Linked DNA regions of Homo sapiens: region 2 is linked to region 1. Evidence: promoter capture Hi-C in 16 types of primary human blood cells and fetal thymus (Javierre and others, 2016). All regions are on one chromosome and are shown on one strand. Each heading gives the region's core, a stretch centred on a gene start or on the middle of the fragment in contact. The rest is flanking DNA. Distances are from core to core; before and after follow the strand shown.

Region 1 (2,700 bases), core at 197-2,696:
AGTGTCTGGGCAATTACTGAGCTGATTTATTTCCCCAGACAGGAAACGGGGGCCCAGGCTGCCTCCCAAGCTTTTGGGGCTGGTCCTGGGGATGCCGGGATCTGGCAGAGGCCCAACAGTGACCAAAATAGCCAGGCCGGTGGCCCTACCCGGCACACACCTCCCTGCCTGGGAGAGCTGCCCACAGGTCTCCTCTCCAGTCCAGGCTGAAGTCCAGGCTGAAGCTTTGAGGCTGTAGGAGGAGGTCCCTGGAATTCTCTCTGTGTGGCTTCCCTAGTGGGAGGGGGACGAGAATCTCCTACTCAAAAGAGGAACCCACAGAAGGAAGAGAAATAGTCTGGAGGGGGAAGTGTCCTGCTGGCCCTGCCGGCTGTCCACTACCCCTTGGCTGCCCCTCCGGGCCTTGGTCCCACCACTCAGGACTGCTGGACGCTGGCGCTGCCACCTGCACACCACCTATGGAGTGCATGCACCTATGGAGCCACGCTGCCCTATCACCTCTCCCCACTCAGCGCCGGCCCTGGAGAACCAGCTCTGGCCATTGGACCCTCTAGGCACCAGGGACACCCTCTTGGGTACAGCCGAGGACACACGAGTGCCCACAACCAGGGACCTGGAGACACAACCACACTCAGGGACACGCACGTGCACCTAGCCAGGGCCTGGAAGACGCAGCCCCCCACACACAGATTCATGCAGACACAAACGGGGACACACAAGAGCACACATCCAAAGACAGCACACTCAGGTATCACACACAGAGAGGCACACACACACAGCCCAGCACGCAGAGAATAACAGACATGCACCGGAACACACATGTGCACGCTGCTGGGGACACGGTGAAACAGTCACCCTCAGAAACACAGACACAGGGATACGGAGGCACATGTAGGCATCCTGACGGAGACAGGCACACAGATATGCCACACACACACACACACACACACACACACACACACACACACACACACTCTCCTGCCGCCCGCACCAAGAGCCGGAGCCCTTTTGCCGGGGAAACAATAACAGCCCCGCCAGCGGGACTGAGCAGGCGACTCTCGGTCCCTTCCGCGGTGGTGAAAGGGGCGCCGGATGGGCGCACGCGGAGGGGAGGAGGCCGGGACTGCGGCGACGCGGGGATGGGGAGGGGCTGCAGACGGCGGGCAGCGCCGGCTGCGCGCCCAGCTCCCGGTCCCTCCGGTACCTGGGGTGGCTGCGGCGCCGCCCGCGCTCTGCTCGGCTGTGCCGGGTTCCGCCGGCCGGGGGCTGCCTGCCCGCTCGCTCTCTGACCCGCTGGGTGAACGCTCCGCACTCCCTCTTGGCGCAGCTTGTCCTCTGGGCTTGCGGTCCTCGGGGCTCGGCGTTGGCGGCGGCGCGAAGGAAGCGGTAATTTATAAGCGGCTTCTTCCTGACCTCGCGTGTCTGTTGTCTGAGCAGGCAGCTCTCAGCATCACCCATCCTGCTGGGTGGAAAAATACCAGCTCGGCCGGGCCGGGGGCGGGGCCGGGGCGGGGCCGGGGCTTCCAGCCCCGCCCCAAGTGCGGACACACGCGCGCACACATACACATGCACACACATACACGCAAACACGCACGCGCGCATGGGCTCGGACACACAAAGAACCCGGGCTCGCCGAGCGCGCGCGCACACCCTCATGCCGCGCGGCGAACGTTCGTTGCCAGGTGCGGCAGCCCGCCCTGGGCGCCTCCTGCCTGCGGAAGAAGAGCAGGACAGACCCGACCCGACCCGCCTAGTCCTTTCCTTCACAGCAGCCTCCAAACTCCACCGCTCGCCTCTTCCGCCAGGCTCCTAGGATGAGGCCCAGGGCTCCTGGAGCAGCCAGGTGCAAACCAGACCGGGCTCGCACTCCACTGCGTTGCCCTGGGCGATCGTCCACGTTCTGGGAGACTCGGTATGCCCCGGGAGGGTGGCCTGAGCTTGTGGTGTGAAGCCAGGTACAGAGCTCCAGAATCCTGGCCTTGCCATGGCTGTGTGACCCTGGGCAAGTGACTCAATTTCTCTGCCTCAGTGTCCTCATCTATAAAATGGAAAGGAAAATAGTAGCGCTTGTCTCCTCCGGCTGTTATGAAGATCCAAGGTTAACAGCGTAGAGAACTCGGAACGCACCCGGCATCTAGGAAGTGCCAAGCCAGTGTCAGCTAATGTGACTATTTTTAAATGGAGATGGGGAGTGTGCCATTATTCTTGTCCTTATTTGAATGAACGGGCCCTCAGGGACCATTTTCCACTGCCCCGCCCTGGCAGCATGAGAGGGAAACGCTGTGAGAACCCCGAACCCCAGCCTTCTCCTGTCCCTCTCTCTCTCTCTCTCTCTCTGCACCTGGGAGGCGGGGAGGAGAGAGCCGATCCTTCCACCATTTACACGGAGAATGAAAGAAGAAATACCGGCCAGGCGCGGTGGCTCATGCCTGTAATCCCAGCACTTTGGGAGGCCGAGGGGGCAGATCACCTGAGGTCAGGAGTTCGAGACCAGCCTGGCCAACATGGCGAAACTCCGTCTCTACTAAAAGTACAAAAATTAGCCTGGCGTGGTGCCGGGTGCCTATAATCCCAGCTACTCAGGAGGCTGAGGCAGGAGAATCCCTTGAACCCGGGAGGCGGAGGTTGCAGTGAGCCGAGATCACGCCACTGCACTCCAGCCTGGGTGACAAGAATGAGTCTCAAAAAAACAAAAAAGAA
Region 2 (2,821 bases), core at 59-2,558, 740 kb after region 1:
CGGGAGACGCTGGAGGTATTGGAGGTTTCAGAGGAATTATTCCAAGAGGGCTGTGGGTGTCTCCCAAGCACACAGAGAGAAAGGAACATGGAAAACTGTTTCCTCTCCAAGCCAAGGGGGAAAGTGCACCCCGGGGAAAAGTCCCGTGGAAGGGGGCTCACAGGTGCCCCCCCAAGTCCCCTTCCTCCTCTCTGCATCCAACTGCCATCCACACTGCCACCTCCACCCACCCACCCTGGGCTGCCCACCTACTGGAAACACCTCATTCCCTCTGAAAAACATCAAAATCAGGAGGCTCCCTCCCAGGCACCATCGGGAACTAGGGGCCGCAGCTCCAATAGGAAGTTCGAAGAATTCAAAGACTAGAAGGGACCAGATTTCCAAGAATGCAGCTTTCCAAGATTACACAGTCTGGCATGGGTGTGGGCGGGGGGAGGTTGGAGAAGAAAAAGGAACATCCGGAGCTGCAGCCTGAGAAACCACCTGCCCTAGAAGGGAGGGCCCCAAGACATGGTTGGATGAGCCGTGAAGGGAAGCAGGCATCTTGGATTCTAGTCCTATGCCTGCCACAGGGTGGCCTTGGCCAGGCTGCCAACCCTCTCCCGACCTCAGCGTCCCCATCTGTCAAATGGACAAAAGTCTTGAGGGGACCCCTGGGCCTCTCATTCCTGGTGAGTATATGGTGGGCAAACACCTCTTCTTCCCAAGCTTCAATGTTCTCCTCCGAATAGCAGGTCTCTCCCGACTCTAAGCCCCCAGGTCATCAATGCAATTGTCATGATTACTAGTTATTGTCACTGGGCATTGACTAAGTGCCAGGATCTGTGCATGCATTATGCATGTGTACCTGGCATACAGAAGATCCCCACACCATAGTCCTACCATCACTTTACGAGGGTGGAAACTGAGACTCAGGGAGTTGCCCAAAGTCACACAGGTAGTTGTGTGAGGCACACATGGTTGCAAGAAGACAACGTTCCCGAGCACTTGCGATGTACCCCCCTAGAGATGAAACTCTGCTTGCTGCCACTTCACAGATGCAGGCATGGAGGCTTGAAGAGATGAGCCTTCCAGAGCAGTGGAGTGGAGCTGTAATTTCAGCAGGCACTGTTCATGCTGCTTAGGAGGGAGGAACTTTCGAAGAGAGATGTGATGCTGGGTACAAAGAAGCAGCAAGGGAGGGGTCCTGTCTCCAGCCCCGGCTACCTGGGAGTCCCCAGGGTGCTCAGATTCAGTCCTCACCCTCCGCCCTCGTCCCAGCCGTGTTCTCTGCTGCCTCCGTGTGGTCGCTGGGGTTGACGCAGCCTTCCGGAGCCACGCAGCTCTGGGGCTGTGGAGCTTTGGGGCTGTGGAGCTCTGGGGCTGTGGAGCTTTGGGGCCGTGGAGCTTTGGGGCTGTGGAACGGGCTTGAGTAAGGAAGGGGTGACTGCACCGGGCAGAAGGCAAGAGGGCACTGGGGTGCAGGGCACAGTACTGCCCGGGAGTCTCGCTCACTACACTCCAGCCACGCCTCTTGTCAGCACATTCCCACTTCCCAGCCTTTGCTCCTGCAGGTCCCTCTGCCTGGCGCACTCTTCGCTTCGCTTTTCACATCATCCCATTTCCCGCCCAATGGCAGCCCCGCTGTCTAACCAAGGCCCCTCGCTGGTGCCCTCTGACCCCAGTCCTGCTTTGTTGTTCATCTTCCTACTTGTCTCCATCTAATGTCATACTATCGATTTGTTTATTTGTTGACTATCAAATTCTCCAGTAAAATAATATCAGCTCCAGTGTCTGGCACACAGTAGGTGACCGATAAAGACTTTTGGAAAAATAACTGCATGAACATTTCCACTAAATAGCTGTCCCAACTTGTTCACCCCCATACGGCAGCTATGAGTAAAACTGGGAGACTTCTTCATAAGCTTGGGACCTGTCTTCCCAAGGTCCCGGTCCTGCCCACAGATCTACCAGCTCCTCCTAACCCTTCTGCCCCAGGACAACCCTGCAGAGAATTAGGGACAGCAGTGGGGACCCCCTCCAAGCTGAGCCACCCCATCTCCTGACAGAATGCTGTCTCCAGGGCTTGCTGTTCATCTCAGGGTCCACTGATGTGTCTGGAGCTGAGCATAGGAGCCAGAGAGCTCAGAGAATAAAGCAAAACTGGATGTCCCCTCCCTCGTTGCAAGTATAGACCTTTGGTAATGTGGCCTGACAGACACAGTCATCCACTCAACAAATATATCTTCATGCTGCTCCATGCTGATACAGAGGGGTCTATAGAAATGAATCAGGCATGGACATTGCTCATGCAAGAGACATACGGGCTTGGCCCACTTCGTCCTACACACCTCTGTCTGGCCATGTGGCTTTGGGCAAGTCCCTTATCCTCCTCTGCTTCAGTTCCATGTAGGTACAGTGCGAGGCTACTGAAGATGGTCACAAAGCCCCCATCTCACTGATGTTGAACCTGTCCCTGCTCTGAATCTGTGCCTTCATAAGCACCCACACCTGGTGTGCCCACCTGCCCCCTCTCCAACTACTGTTCACCTCCCACTTGCTGCTCAGGGCATGGAAGCCACAGCAGGGAAGAGGGATGGATGGCTCAGGGGACAACCAGGGGCACCGAGGGCTGCCCTCCACCTGCCCAGCACCTTTCGAGGATGGCCCGACAGCTGTTGTCATCACTCTCTCCTGGGAAGAAGGAGACAGCCGGCCCAGTCTCCCCATGAAAGCCTCCCTTGCTGTGTGATAAAGTAGGGGAGACTCCTCCCCATGTTTGCTAAGCACCTATGTGTGCTACACCCCATCCCTGACGTGCCCCGCATGAGAGGCAGCAGTG

The links. Contacts are between HindIII fragments. The CHiCAGO score rates a contact against its expected background, and 5 or more counts as called.
Region 2: a contact is called between a fragment that was not itself captured here and the fragment with the promoter of SLC6A6 in region 1, in 1 of 17 cell types (total CD4 T cells). The highest score is 7.5, in total CD4 T cells.

The regions. Positions count from the first base shown.
Region 1 is chr3:14,401,352-14,404,051 of GRCh38, reverse strand. SLC6A6 (solute carrier family 6 member 6) reads right to left here and starts at 1,446. Exons shown (of 15, transcript NM_003043.6): 1 at 1,205-1,446. It overlaps LOC105376959 (a long non-coding RNA gene), which reads left to right and starts at 1,645. Exons shown (of 8, transcript XR_007095825.1): 1 at 1,645-2,700. RefSeq lists enhancers at 263-342, 413-472, 1,793-1,962, 1,973-2,022 and a silencer at 1,123-1,652. The HindIII fragment of the contact is 4,510 bases long and covers 227-2,700 here.
Region 2 is chr3:13,656,477-13,659,297 of GRCh38, reverse strand. The region is part of intron 1 of LINC00620 (long intergenic non-protein coding RNA 620); the gene reads right to left. Among named protein-coding and RNA genes, the nearest start is that of LINC00620, 7.2 kb to the right of the region's middle. The HindIII fragment of the contact is 1,196 bases long and covers 711-1,906 here.